Regions from separate parts of the Homo sapiens genome. Here all the other regions are linked to region 1. The links are contacts of gene promoters, found by promoter capture Hi-C in blood cells and fetal thymus (Javierre and others, 2016). All regions are on one chromosome and are shown on one strand. The core of a region is centred on a gene start or on the middle of the fragment in contact, and the rest is flanking DNA. Distances in the headings are between cores, read along the strand shown.

Region 1 (5,097 bases), core at 995-3,494:
GCCATAAGCCCCTTGCTCCACTGCTTTAGTCTACCAGGAGTTTGACTAGAGGAACGGGCTCCTATGGCTGTGGACATTATCTAGCTGGATTCTTGTTGCAATTATCAAGCCTTGAGCAGTCATGCTCATGGAGGCTTAGACTAGGAATGCAAGCTACGATCAAGACAACAGACCTACCTCAGAAACTAACCTTGCTAGTGTCACCCTTCCTAACAAGAACATGAACCTACTTCCTCTCCTTGGTCCTCTGCCTTTTAAAGGCAGTGCTGTTTTTTCCAGGGATCTGAGGTCTAGACATGGAACAAGTATTTTGGCTACATACCTTTTTGTTTGATTTTATGACAATTCTTCTAAGCCTGTATTGCAAAGTGCTATAACACAGTTGCTTTAGGAGTAAAAAAAGTGAATGAAAACAGTTGTGTGTGTATTAACCTACAAAGTACCTCAGAGAAACTATAGACACCTGGGCTTCACATCACTATAATCCCTGGTATAGAGTAAGTTCCAGATTTCATGTCACTGGTAAATAATGGCACTCAGAAAAAAAAAAATCAAAAATGGAATCATGATAATTATTTGAAGTACATATTATTGGAGAAGTCAACATTATTTAAACAATTTCCACATAAATACTGAAGCCACCTAAAATCTTTTAATTTTTAGCAACTTGTGTTACACATTCTTAAAGAATATTATTAAATTCTCAAAATATTGGTTGTTGAGAGCTATAAAACAAACTGTATTCAACTCAGTTATTTCATTGGATTTGTTTTTTGAATATTTAATAAAATAGTTCAAACACCTAGAAAATATAGCAGATACTTATGTATACTCGAATCAAATTATATTAATATGCCCTATATCCATGAAGTTTAGTGAATTTTCCCAAATTCATCTCCAATATCAATTCGATTTTCGTTATTAAAATTAGAATGTTTTCAAACCGAAGGGGAGAGACTGATGGCAATGATAAATGTATTTGTGATATGTAGTTCAGGTTTGGATACTGCCTTCTACCTATGTCACATAGGCTGAGTGAGCTACAGAGGCACACCACTATCTGGAGTATCTAAGCAATAAACACGCTGAACCCAACACACTGGCCAACCACTCCTTCACTCTACAACAGGCTTCATATACTCTCCTGTGTTAAAGATTTTGGTAACTGCCTAAATTTTTGTTTCATTGGGCCAGTAAACCCTTTATGAATTACTACATGGCAAACATTTTTTAAAATAAAACAAAAATTCTAATAGCCCCAATCTCCCTGACCCTAACTACAAGAAAAAAAAAAAAGCCTACAATTTCATTGCTTTGCTTAAAATAGGATGTAGATATAAAATCTTTTTACAGAAAAGCATCTTTGTTCCCTTTTAACAGTGACAATCTATACACTGCCTTAATTGGGCCCCTGTATTTCTCAGCATGAATTTCATTTTTTACTGAAGATTTTCTTTAAAGCAGGTAAAACCGGTTTGTTCTTTAAAAAAAAAATCAATAAGAAAAACACTCCAGAATGAGGAGCAGGAAAATAATGCATGATAGTAAGGGGATCTCTTCAAATAAGATGATTTAATCGGTCCTCAAAGAGTTTCTAACACAGGGGCCAATCACCCAGAAGACAAACTAGCAAAATCAGTTCATGCCACAGAGCCTTTGCATTTCAATCCTTCCACACATATTGACTGGAGACTCACAGAGAAATGGTGCCTTTGCTACAGCCACCCCTTGTTCATCAGCACTGATGAGATTTGGGGAGAGCACCCAGAAATCACTAACTCTGTTTTTTAAAATACTAAATTAAAAAAAATAAAGCCAAACCTTACCAGAAAGGAGCAAGCTGACTCCACAGAGAACTAAGCTGGCTAAAGAGTCCATGCTTCCCCAAATCTCTCCATCCAGTTTCCACAAATGTGCATGAGGTCCCAAGGATCCTTTCAAAAACCCAGCGGTTTGTGACTTTCCATTAGCATCGTCCTACTACGTCTTGTTTACAAGTTAGAGGCAAGAAGGAACAGCACAGAAGCAGGCTGTAACAGTCTCATTTCTGTCTGAGCACAGGGAGTTTTAAGTTCCTTTTTCCTGTTTCCTTTGTAGATTAGGATGGGAAAGGCTGTATCTTAAAGGCATTTGGTATCAGCAGGGCTGGGGGCACTCAAGCCCTATCCATCTCGCAATTCATCAAAACACTTATCTGTTGCTGTTGCTTCTGCTGCTGCTTTTGCTGCTGCTGTAGGGGCAGAGGAATTTTTGTTGGAAGTGTGGGTCCCGGTCAGCATTTTCAGAAACAATAGGGGTATCCTCTCATAGGCGGGAAACTGAGAATAACAAGCCCTCCACCTATGTATGGTATGCGATGATGACCAATCCTTCTCAGACTTCTAACAGCTCTCCCGGGGCTACTGGGATCTCTGACAGAAGGAGCTTTTGGGTGTGGGAAGCCGTTTTGGCTTTTGTTTTCTCATTTTAACCCACATGGTTTGAATTGGGAGAAGAAGGTTTCCGTGATGAGAAAATACAACCTGAAAAGCAATTAATTTCAGTGAGCACCGGTGAGGTCAATGCTCAATGTAGCCCCAAGAGACCAGAGTCCAAAATTGTTAGCCTGTTTTCTTTCACACAGATGGCCTGTTGGTTGGCCATTAGCCCAAAGATACCCATGTTGCCGGCTATAGCTTTAATTTTCATTAACAATTCATCTAAAGGTGATCAAATTTCTTGAAGAAGTTGGCATAGAAGGATTTTGGTAATGAGAAAGATTTGGTAGTCATTGAGCAATGGTGTTTCAGAAGCAAATTATATATAACATTTAAAAACTAATCTGTGTAAAAACACAAACATACAGGATTAGATTGGGATAAAAATGGTGCTCATGAGAGCAAAGAGAGTTCATGGACCAAAATGAAAATAGCCATGGAATGTACAATATCTAGAATGAGGTCAGAGACCCTACACTTATCCAGATAATTACTCCACAATATGAATTATGACATTAGATTAGAGAGTATACACTTTGCTCATCATCGACCTTCATGCCTGAGGAAATCATTATACTCCTCCTTTTCCTACCCACCAGAGGAAAAGGCAGATGCAGCTAGTCTTGACTAATTTCTGTCCCAGGTTTTATCACATCGATGATGATCTTAAGAACCAATTAATGTTTCCAGTTTGCAGGTGTGAAAAAGCCCAGGTTCTGTCTGCAAACAGAACTGGGTTCAAATACTGGCTCAGCCACATGTGTAGCTGAGAAAAGTTACTTAGTCTTTTTGAGCCTCAGTTTCAACAGCTGTGAAATGGCAAAAATATCTCCTTCCCAGGTGTTTTGAGAGGAATAAATGAGGTTTAAAAATATAAAACCATTTGGTACTATGCCTAGTTCTTTGAAGGTTCTCATTAAATGTTAATAAGTTTATTTTCTTTCATCTTTCCATTCAGTCTCAATTTAAATTCCAAGAGCTTCTACTAAAAAGCTATTTTCTATTCCTATGAGATGACTTTAAATTTGTCATCACGAAAAAAAAAAACAAAAACAGTGGGCCTGGCACAGTGGCTCACGCCTATAATCCCAGCACTTTGGGAGTGGATCACCTGAGGTCAGGAGTTTGAGACCAGCCTGGCCAACATGGCAAAACCCCATCTCTACTAAAAATACAAAATTTAGCTGTGCTTGCTGGCGTGCACCTGTAACCCCAGCTACTCTGGAGGCTGAGGCAGGAGAATTGTTTGAACCTGGGAGGCAGAGGTTGCAGTGAGCCGAGATCGTGCCACTGCACTCCAGCCTGGGTGACAGAGCAAGACTCTGTCTAAAAAAAAAAAAAAAAAAAAGAAAAAAAAGAAAGAAAAATGAAGTTCCACACAGGCTAAGTTACTTGCTCTGCTGTGAGTAGCAGAGGTAATAATATCTGAATCCTGAGCTCTGGACCTCCAATTTTTCCCTTGTTTCATAGTTGAAAAGTAGATCAAGAGTAATGTAGGACATCACAAACACCAGCAGGGTACACCTAGACCTTACAGAAGTATTTGAAATGAAACTTTGACAGATAAGAATAGTTTGGTGACACTGAGAAGTGCGGTCAGTTCTTAGTGTGCTTCTGAAATAACTAATGTCAGGATCGGTGGGTGCTGTATTAATTCACTTCAGGAAAATGAAAGGGGCCTCCTCATGAGTCAAGCTCATTCCATTTAATTTGATTTTTCCAGACATACCTACAGTAAAAGCATAAAGAAAACCAAACCAAACTAAACAAACAAACAAGGCTCTTGGCTGATTCTTCATTTTCTATTTCCTGCTTTTTGCACTCAATACATGAAAAACACTATAGACAACATTAAAAGTCTTTGAGACTAATTAACAAAGGTATCAATAGATAACAAAACGGTTTTTCTGAAAGAGGTGGAAAATAACTTACATAATACTACTATACACTGGTATCACATGTCAAGAGGTCAACATCACAAACACAAAGCAAAAGCCTTGTATGCATACCCTTTGGCCCAGAAAATCCAGTTTTTTTTTTTTTTGAAATAGAGTCTCACTCTGTCGCCCAGGCTGGAGTGCAGTGGCACTATCTCGGCTCACTGCAACGTCCGCCTCCTGGGTTCAAGCGATTCTCCTGCCTCAGCCTCCTGAGTAGCTGGAATTACAGGCGTGCACCACCACACCCGGCTAATTTTTATACTTTTTAGTAGAGATGGGGTTTCACCATATTGGCCAGGATGGTCTTGAACTCCTAACCTCATGATCCACCCCCCCCCCCCCTTGGCCTCCCAAAGTGCTGGGATTACAGGTGTAAGCCACTGCGCCCCACCAGAAAATCCATTTTTATGATATACACCAAGCCAAAATCAAATATGTGCCCCCAAATTTGTGTATAAGGACATTATAGAAGCATAGTTGATAATAATCAAAGCCTAGAAATAATCAAAATGGTCAACAAAAATGGATTATTTATTAAAAATCATGGTATACAATGAAGTTCCAGACAAGTGTTCAAATACTATGGTGAAATCAGATTGACATAAAAAGATGTGAAAATGTTTATGGTATACTGTTGATTGGGAAAAAAACACAATTTAAACAGAATGAAATTTATACAC
Region 2 (5,097 bases), core at 730-3,229, 160 kb before region 1:
TTCATTTGTTTTATGTTGCTGCCCTATAGGCCTCAACCAATAAAGAGGTCATTAGACCATTCAGGGTACCAGTCCCACTGCTAACAAGCCCCACTGGAATCATTCGGGCCCAGCAAAGCAGTACAGATAAAGGCTGCCATAAAGAATGGGAAGGCTTTTATTGATGCCACTTCAGAACAGAAGAAAAATGCATCTACATGTCCAGCCTCTCAGAGCCAAAGGAAAGGTTTGGAAAAAAGCTTTTTTTAAAAAAAAGTCACTTATTTAAGAAATGGAATTTTACTTCATTTTAAAAAATATTTCTTAAAAATCCACATGCTACCAAGTATAGTTGAATCAATGGCACAGTTTTACATGAAATAATATGATTGATATTTAAATATTTTGTCTACATCTTTTTTTTTTTTTTTTTTTTTTTTTTTTGAGACACAGTTTTACTCTGTGGCCCAGGCTGGAGTGCAGTGGCACAATCTAGGTTCACTGCAACCTCTGCCTCCCAGGTTCAGGTGATTCTCATGCCTCAGCCTCCTGAGTAGCTGGGCAGGCATGTGCCATCCATCACACCTGGCTAATTTTTTTTTTCTTTTTTTGTATTATTAGTAGAGACGGGGTTTTGCCGTGTTAGCCAGGCTGGTCTCAACTCCTGACCTTAAAGCGATCCACCCACCTCGGCCCCCCAAGTGCTGAGATTACAGGCATGAGCCACCACTCCCAGTCAATACTTTGTTTATCTCTAAATGATACACAATAGTAGTACTATTTTGCAAGTATTTTACAATTGTTTTATCAATTATCTCAATTCATTCTTCTGAATTATACTGGAGTGGGTTATTGGGATTTTTTTGCATTTGAATGTTGTTTTCTTCCAGGTTGCATGTTTCAAACCTATAAAGGAAGTGTTGTGAAATTTTGAATTAATGATTAAACTCTAATCATCTGAGGTTAATGTCATTAAAATTTATCTTTTCTTTTCCTTGTTCATGAAAACTTCTTAGAATATTCACTCACAATGGACCTTCATCTGAATGTAGTTCTTTCAAGAGAAAACCCAACTGCAAAACCAACCAAATCGTTCATTCCTGTCAAAAGTATTGCTTCTCTTTCTGTTTAGGTATTATAAACTAAGTCTGAACACCAGAATTATATTTCATCATATCCTGCTTACATATAGAGTCCCTGGAAGAGTGGCTATATTTTTTTCTGAAGCTTTCAAATTCAGATAAATGCCAGACCCAATAGAGAAAAATGTCAACATTTTTTAGCTTACCGATGAATATAGTTATTTTCATTATGATGTAATTTGTGTCACTCTTAGATGTTTTGTTGATTCTATCCTTGGAAATAGTAGGCATTGTTTTAGACTTAAAACATCTATGGCTATGGTTAATTGAAACCTACTCAACATTTTTTAAAAGGAAAGTTTCAAGCTGTGTCCAGTGAGGGTGTATATTTGTTTATGTATATGAGACAGAGACAGCTCTTTACTAAATAATGCCATCAGTGATATGATGTTGTAGCCTTCTTTAAGTAATTCTTATTCTACTTGTGGCAGTGATTTTCCTCCCCTGTTTTCCAATTATTTTGTAGCAGAAAACCACCTGGCAGTTTTAAGGTTTTCTCCATCCCTAAAATGTCTTTGTATTACATGCAAACAATTACTGAGAAGTATGATGTTGGCTTGGTTTTATTTTTCCTCAAAGGTGAAGCAGATTAACTGATTTTAAAGTTCTCTGGGTCTTTTTATAAGTCCTTCAGAAGAAATGCTAAGAGTTTATAGCTGGGATCACTTTAATATTAAGTATACTCAAGTCACTCAGAAATTTTAAGTCCAAGCATTTTTCTTAATGATGTGCTATCAGAAAGACATTGGGATACATAGTTGAAGGATGGCAACCTACAAACTTTGCTATATTTGAATCAGAGGAGCAAATCCCAGCTTTAGGAATCTGGTTGTGGAACAGTAGTACAATTAGATGAGTGATCAGCTATCATTGCGTACGTGCAGGTAGCAGCACAGATGTGGCAGTCTCACTTCTCCATTTTGTGAGTTTAAGTAATTTTATACTTTGTGTTTATTCTACCTCTTCAACTTGACACTTGAAATTACTTTTCAATTTAATTTTGATATAACTGACCTAAGGTAGTTTTACTTCTTCCATATACTCAGTAGGAATATTAAACAGAAACATGTCTTCTTTTCTCTAATAACACTTTTATTTTTAACAAGAGGCCAAAAGATACATTTAACAAGATGGCTCATCGGAAAAGACATTCAGTAACATCAGAATTCTTATCCAAAGTACCTGATGAAGTAAGACAACGCTACATCAACCTCTTTGTTGAGAAGTATTTGAAAGTTTGTAAAACAGAGGATGAGGCTGTTTACAAGGTTGGTATTATATAATGTAATTTATCTGAAGACACACACAAAATTATTACATTGAATAAAAAACTCATGGAGCACAACTAGCAAATAACTTTATTCATTTTCTCTTCATTACATTTTCAAAACCAGGCCATGGGACTGGTTCAGTTCCTTCTTCCCTCTTGGATGACTTTTATGGTCTTTTTCAGTTACCAAAAGTCCCCTGGTTACTTCTAGGGGGTCTGGGCAGGGTGAGGACTGTCTGCTAGCTCCATCCTCTGCACAGGGGAGCCCCATGGCTCAGAAAACCTAACAAAGGAAACATGGGTACAGCAGTGGTAATAAGGGGCATGCTTGTCTTATTCCTGATCCTAGGGGGAAAGCTTTAAGTCTTTCTTCATTAAGTACAATGATAACTATGGGGTTTTTACATATAACCTTTATTAAGTTGAGACAATTCCTTTCCATTCCTAGTTTGTTGAGTGCCTCATTGTGTTAGATTTTGTTAAATGCTTTTTTCTTCATCTATTGAGCTGTCACACAGGTTTTATCCTTTATTCTATTAATATGATACATTGCATTGACTTTCTGTGTTAAACCTTACATTTATTTGATAGGTGTTCTTGGTCATGGCATATAATCTTTTTTTATACGTTGCTAGGTTACATTTCCTAGTATTCCATTGAGGATTTTTGTGTCTATATTTATCACAGATATTGTTCTGTAGCGTTTTTTGTTAGTGTCAATGACTTTTTAAAATTGCTATAAAATACACGTAACATAAAATTACCATTCTAACCATTTAAGTGTACAATTCAGTGGTATGATGTGTATTCACAATGTTATGAAACTATCACTACTATCCATTTCCAGAGCTTTTTTATCATTTCAAACAGAAATTCTGTACTCATTAAATAACTCCCCATTCCTCTCTCCTTTCAGTCTCTGGTAATCTCTATTCTACTTTATGTTTCCATGAATTTTCTTTTCTTTTCTTTTTTTTTTTTCTTTTTTTGACAGAGTCTCACTTTGTCACCAGGCTGGAGTGCAGTGGCGCAATCTCCACTCACTGCAACCTCTGCCTTCCAGCTTCAAGCGATTCTCCTGCCTCAGCCTCCCAAGTAGCTGGGATTACAGGTGCATGCCACCATGCCCAGCCATGTTTCTATGAATTTTCTTATTCTATTTATCTCATGTAATTGAAATGATATACTGTTTGTCCTTGTATGTCTGACTTCTTTCATTTAGCATAATGTTTTAAAGGTTTATTCATGTTGTAGCATGTATTCAAATTTTATTTATTTTTACAACTGAATAACACTTTACGGTATGTATAACCATACTTTTGTTATCCATTTTGTTCACTCAATAATGGATGGAGATTGTAGTTTTCTTTGCAGTAATGATTCTGTCTCTTTTTTGGTCTCAGGGTTATATTGACCTCATAGAATAAATTGGAAAGTGTTCCCTCCTCTTTTATTTTTTGGTTTATAAGACAGCCTTAGCTTTCACTTCCTGCTTGTGCAGGGCCTCAAGGTTGGCCACTGGTGAATGAATAGGATTTTCTCTTTTCCCAGGTCTTAAATGGAACACTTGTTAAACCCAGGATTATGTCAGAGCCTTTACAAATCTCTAGGGTCATCTAGTTCTCCAAGAGTTTCTTTTAAATTCCTAGCCAAACTATTGTTTGCCAGACTAAAACCATAGCCCTAGCTAGCTGTGATATTGCCAGGATATTGCTATTGTTTCAGTTGCACCCTGGAGATAGGGTTTTTTCCCTCCATACTCTGAACTCTGAGTCAAATCAAATACCCACAACACCCTAGGAATAGAGATTTTTCAGGGAACTGGTTTTTTGTTTGAATATTGATAGTGCTCTAGCAATAATGCTTTTAGTATGGTTCTAAAAAAGATATGTCTACTCTGTTGGCTCTCAGGGCCAACCTTTCACAACCGTGGCGCCACTAAGCTGGGAAGGGAAGGGAGGTAGGAATTTCACAGAACCCACTGTGTTACCAAGGTTCAGTAGTTTCTCTTAGACAATTTTCAGTTTGTTCTGTGGCTTTAGTTATTAGAATTTTGAAATGGTTGATTTTTAGTTGTTTTGCCAATATTTTTATTGCTTTTGTGGGACAGTAAGTTCATGAAGGTTCTCGCTCTACTATTCCAGAAGTCTGTGTCCTCTAGGATTCTATGTAGGTTAAAGAATAATGGCAAAAATAAAAAGGGACAATATGAGCCTCTTATGTGTTGTTCATTTTCTTCCAGCTTTGTCTTTTTTCATCATGTGTCTTTTCTTCCTTACTCCCTCTAACCTCCCATGGCTTTATCTCTGATGATTTAGTGTAATGAGAAGAGTCTTGGTGGCATTTGGGTACACCTAGGTTCAATTACCAGCTCTGTAACAATAAGCAAGATGTTTCCTTTGTTCAAGCCTAGTTTCATCATATAAATCAGTGATGACACCCATTCTCATACAGTCATAATGAAGATTAAATGAGAAAACATTTAATATGCTTAAAACAAACCTGCATATACTAGGTATATAAATTAATAATATATTTAATATTTATTATCATAACACTCCATTTGCTTGTTTCTTTCATATTTCATTCCTTTTCCTTTTACTGACTTAATGACCCTTGGTATAAAAATAATTATGTAATGGTTTCAGGAAGGTAAATTTTATAGAAGAAAAAATGAAGATCATGTCCTCCATTTGCTGTGTAATC
Region 3 (5,097 bases), core at 1,213-3,712, 160 kb after region 1:
CAGACAGTTGACATAAATGATTTGTTTTAAACCTTTGAACTGCTGAACACATAAAAACATTAAAATTATTTTTAAAGTATCAAGAACCCAATTTAGTGTTCATAGAATTTTAGTCCCAGCTGCACTATGTTCTAGTTATGTGACATTAAAATAGTTATTTCAGTTATTCATTAATTCATTAAGGTAACCAATAACATCTACTGAGCATTAACCTCCTATCAAGCTGTTAAAAGACAACACACATTAAAGTATTAAACAGTTCAGTTGAGCAGACAGTGATTCATGAATTGGGCAGCACCAAACCACAAGTGGTGAAACTCCATCTAGGGGCACTTAAACTACCTTTGCAGAATTATAACTAATGAGAGAAATCTAACATGACTGACTCCATTTTGCTCAAAACCTCACAGGCTAAACTAGTTTTTTGTTGTTGTCGTTTTATTGTTAGTTTGTTTTTTGCTTATTCTAGTGTGGAGGCTAAAATAACTATGCCAGGAATTTGGTTTATAGTTAAACTTTGAGGCAAGGAAAAGTGACCCCCCACCCCAACTCCTTGTATGGAGATTGAAGCTACATTCATAAGACAAGATTAGAATTATGGTAGAGGCTTGAACTTTGCTAAAGAATAGACATGCTCAAACAATAACTTGGCATTGTTTGATTAGCTTGCTTTTCTTTCTTTCTTTTTTTTTTTTTGAGACAGAGTCTCGCTCTGTTGCCAGGCTGGAGTGCAGTGGCGCAATCTCAGCTCACTGCAACCTCCCCCTCCCGGGTTCAAGTGATTCTCCTGCCTCAGCCTCCTGAGTAGCTGGGACTACAGGCGCGTGCCACCACACCCGGCTAACTTTTTGTATTTTTAGTAGAGACAAGGTTTCACCATGTTAGCCAGGATGGTCTCGATCTCCTGACCTTGTGATCCACCTGCCTTGGCCTCCCAAAGTGCTGGGATTACAGGCGTGAGCCACCTCACCCAGCCTAATTAGCTTGCTTTTCTATAGAGCCTCCTGCCCTGGAGTCACGTAACCAGAGGTCACAAGATTTGTAACTTCGCCAAGTACTCCTACAGATAACATCACTATTGTGAAACCTAATTAACTGGTCTTTGAGATATTTTTCAAATTTAGCATTTTGGCAGACCAACAGACACAACCTGGACCTGTGAACCCCACTCCTCAGAAATGACTCAGGTTCACGAAGATAGTTCTGACACACCTGTGATTCATCCCTGACCCAACCAATTAGCATTTCCCATTTCCTAGCCTCCTGCCCACCAACCGATCCTTTAAAAACCTAGTCTCTACATTCTTGGAGGTGGATTTGAGAAATATCTCCCATCCTCCTCGTTGGCTGGCCCTGTGATTATTCATCTTTCCCTGCTGCAACATTTGTAGTTCTCAGTGCATTGGTTTTTTGGAAGGCAGCAGGCAATTACACAGGGAAATGTGAAATTACACATTTCCCTGTGTAAAAGAACACAGGGGCAATTACAGCACGAGGGGAAAACTTTTATAAGGGGTTGGTGGAAGCAAGACTAAGAAAATATACTTACTTGATTGGTTAAAGTGGAAAGTCCTTAGTTAGAGGTTTGTCTGTTTCTGTTAGTTAAGCTTAAGTTTCATTTTACTGTTTACATTGAGTTGGGCTCCAGAGCTGGAACTATCTCAACCTAATGGCCTCCAAATTAACATTTTTTAAACAAGGCAAATTCTTCATGTGTGAAATGGGAATAATACTATCTACCTTGCAGGGTTATTGTGAGAACTAAATGAGAGACTGTGAAAATTGGTAAACTGAATACTATACCAAGTTGAAAAACATTTCCTATTATATAGGAGGCAGTAAATTAGATGGTTAAGATTCATGTAAAATAAAGGTCTTGATAATAATAAAATGTAGTCCGGTAGAAAAGACAGACATAAAAGAACATATTAGAATGCAGTAAATACTATATTGACAACAGACAAAACTGCATTGGTTCCCCAGAGGAACTAGAAAAAAACAGAAGATAAACTGGTGTTGAACTATGACAGATGGAGAAAGTGGAATTCTAAGTTTAAAAAAAAAATGCATGTACAAAGAGCATAGAGACATGGAGAGCATACAGCATAATGTGTTCAGGGAATTGTGACAAATTCGAAATGTCTAGAGTAAGAGAGATAACAGAGGGAGATGAATCTAGTAAAACAGATTAGGGAGATTGTGTGAAAGGCCCTATGTAATGCTGTACTATAAGAATGGAAAGCCGGCCAGGCGTGGTGGCTCACGCTTATAATCCAGCACTTTGGAAGGCAGAGGAGGGCAGATTATGAGGTCAAGAGATTGAGACTATCCTGGCCAACATGGTGAAACTCGTTTCTACTAAAAACACAAAATTTAGCTGGGCATGGTGGCGCGCTCCTGTAGTCCCAGCTACTCGGGAGGCTGAGGCAGGAATCGCTTGAACCCGGGAGGCGAGGGTTGCAGTGAGCCGAGATCGCGCCACTGCACTCAGCCTGGCAGCAGAGCGACACTCCGTCTCAAAAAAAAAAAAAAAAAAAAAAAAAAAAAAAAAAAAAAAATAATGGAAAGCCATCACAGGTTGTCAAACAGAGAAAAAACAATTAAGTGTATATTTCAGAAAGATAATTATATTTTAATGTGTAGGATTGGCTGGAGAGAAGGGGTAGAAAGGCCAGAGAAATGTTGAAATAATTTAAGTAGGACTAATTGGTACAGATTTCTAACAGATAGCTAGAAATACAGATCTAGAGTTTGGAGAAGACAATATGGGAATACAGCTCTAGAAATAAGCCAAGTAGTAAATAATCCACCCAGGGAGGGGATATGATAGCAAAGAAGTATCAAAAGTCAGCATTTCAAGAATGATCTCCCAAACCAGGGGAAAAGTGATTCCAAACCTAGAGTAGGAGTTTTAGGAAGGGAGAAGTCAGAAAAGTGTGAATTGGGCTTAGCAATTTAGAAAGGTTTGTGGAAAAGTGTAGTTGGATGCGAGAGAATAGCGGATGGGAAGAAAACAAAGTAAGGAGACAGGTCATGTTTACCCTGGCACTCAATAAGGTCTGATAATGACTAGCAAGTAGCACCACGGGTGGGTGGGCGGCGGGGTTGTTAAAAATACGTATCTCAGCTCTAACTCAGACCTACTGAATCAGAATCTACATTTTAACAAGCCGCCAGAGAAAAGTAGTTATACCTTTAAAAAATTGACTTGGACCACCGTATTTGCTAAATTTGACAACAGAGAGTAGGAGATTCAGATAACTTGAAACGGAGGAATAGTTCAATGATTAATAGTTCCCAATTTGGCCTCAAGCTTTCTCGTTTTAATTGAAAAACAAGGTTAACTTGCAAAAACCTCGAGATTCTCAGGGAAAAGCAGTGAGGATGACCTAACAGTAGACACCAAACAACCTCACTCAGCCATTCCGCCATGCCCAGCGCGAAAGACTCAGGTTTAAAATATCCGGATTCGGCGCGCCGGATGTCCACGCCAGCTGGCGCGGCATTATGGGAATTGTAGTCCCGGCCCGCTTCCCGATTTACCACAAACTGTTGGGCCCGGAGTCGGAAGAGACCCGGGTTTGGGAAGGACCCCAGGGTCAGGCGTCCTGGTGGAAGGGCGGGCCTCTTTCTCTCTTGCTCAGCAGGGAGTCCAGAGCCCTGGAGGAAAGCCAGCTCAGCTCCGCATCGGCGTCGGCGGTTGGGACGCACACACTCTGCGTCATGGAGGGCTGAGGCCGATGATGAATTCCGGAGTGCCTGTCAGGCTTGCTGTGTCACTCGGCCCGCTCGGCGCGCCCCTTCCCAGCCGCCCTTCCGTACCGGCTCTCGGGCTCTTCCGGTCTCCGGCCGCCCCTTACCTGCAGGCTCTTCTCCCGCCGCGGCCCGGCGCTCTCCGAGTCGCCCCTGCGGACTGGTCTCGCACAGTGCCTGGGCACCGGGCGCCAGACAGACACTGGCCATGACGAGCGGCGCAACCAGGTACCGGCTGAGCTGCTCGCTCCGGGGCCACGAGCTGGACGTACGGGGCCTGGTGTGCTGCGCCTATCCGCCGGGAGCCTTTGTGTCCGTGTCCCGAGACCGCACCACCCGCCTCTGGGCCCCAGACAGGTGAGCGCTGGGAGTCGGGTTGCCCCGGCTGTGTTGCACGCTTCCCGGAGAGTGGAAGGAGAGTGACCCTTCCCTGTCAGTCCTGCCGTCTCTCTCTCCCCCCAGCCTTCCCTCTGCTCTCCGCTCCCTTCCAATTCTCAGACTATTAGAACTCTGTAAGAAACCATCGGGATTTAAGTGGAAAGAGCACAGGGTTGGGGGACCAAAGACCTGCCTTGTTGTGCTAACTTGACCACAGACGAGTCTCCTACCTTTTGGGCCTTCAGTTTTTGGACGATGATCTCCCAAGTTTCTTTTAGACTTGAAAATTTACTGATTGCAGTTGCACCCTCCGAAGTGAGGTAGTTTGAAGGCATCTGAAATGTCCTCTTTTTTTTTTTTTTTCGAAGAAGATGCTCTGTAGTCTTCTGTAAAATTTAATTTTTGAAGACTTTAGTTCTCAAAAATTGCACTGGTGAATCCTCTTTTCGTCCAGGTTAGAATTTTAGTCTGTGGTCTGTGCTGGTCCTGAGGGAGTGAAACCTCTCGGATGTTTTGTTTCTGTGCATGTGCTGTTTCTTGAGGAGAAGCAGCATCCATTGCCTTCAAAGGATTTATCAGAAGGGTTCACGAACCAAAAAAAAAAAGAAGAAAAAGGTTAGGAATCAGTCCTGATCGAGTTCACGGGTTCAGCCCTGATTTGGCTGGTTGTAACAGGATATTTAAGACCTAGAAGACAGATTGCAGTTCAGAGAAAGAAAAATTGAGGTTAGTTATTTTGTTATTTAGTAGGTCTCCCACTGCTAGAGATTTTAGAATTTGAGTCACCATCCATAAATTCAGTTGATAACTGTTGAGTGCCTCCTCTTTGTTTGGGATACTGGAGAGGAATAAAGACAGACAAGTTGCCAGTGTTTCTGGAGCTTTCTTACAGTCTGATGGGGAAGATAGATTAAAAAACAAGCCAATAAATAATTAAAAACTGGCATGTGAAGAAAACATACAGTT

What was found. The method cuts DNA at HindIII sites, captures the fragments that hold promoters and counts their contacts. A CHiCAGO score of 5 or more calls a contact.
Region 2: a contact is called between a fragment that was not itself captured here and the fragment with the promoter of TEK in region 1, in 1 of 17 cell types (endothelial precursors). The highest score is 7.4, in endothelial precursors.
Region 3: a contact is called between a fragment that was not itself captured here and the fragment with the promoter of TEK in region 1, in 1 of 17 cell types (endothelial precursors). The highest score is 5.0, in endothelial precursors.

Annotation. Positions count from the first base shown.
Region 1 is chr9:27,106,372-27,111,468 of GRCh38, reverse strand. TEK (TEK receptor tyrosine kinase) reads right to left here and starts at 2,244. Exons shown (of 23, transcript NM_000459.5): 1 at 1,827-2,244. The coding sequence starts at 1,878. LOC124902134 (a long non-coding RNA gene) reads right to left here. Exons shown (of 2, transcript XR_007061440.1): 2 at 4,928-5,097. The HindIII fragment of the contact is 9,085 bases long and covers 1-5,097 here.
Region 2 is chr9:27,269,219-27,274,315 of GRCh38, reverse strand. It overlaps the pseudogene REXO6P. Among named protein-coding and RNA genes, the nearest start is that of EQTN, 25 kb to the left of the region's middle. The HindIII fragment of the contact is 1,542 bases long and covers 1,209-2,750 here.
Region 3 is chr9:26,945,910-26,951,006 of GRCh38, reverse strand. It overlaps PLAA (phospholipase A2 activating protein), which reads left to right and starts at 3,765. Exons shown (of 14, transcript NM_001031689.3): 1 at 3,765-4,110. The coding sequence starts at 3,962. It also overlaps a transcript of IFT74 not described here. RefSeq lists enhancers at 3,442-3,751, 3,341-4,014, 4,012-4,271, 4,015-4,690. The HindIII fragment of the contact is 1,706 bases long and covers 1,610-3,315 here.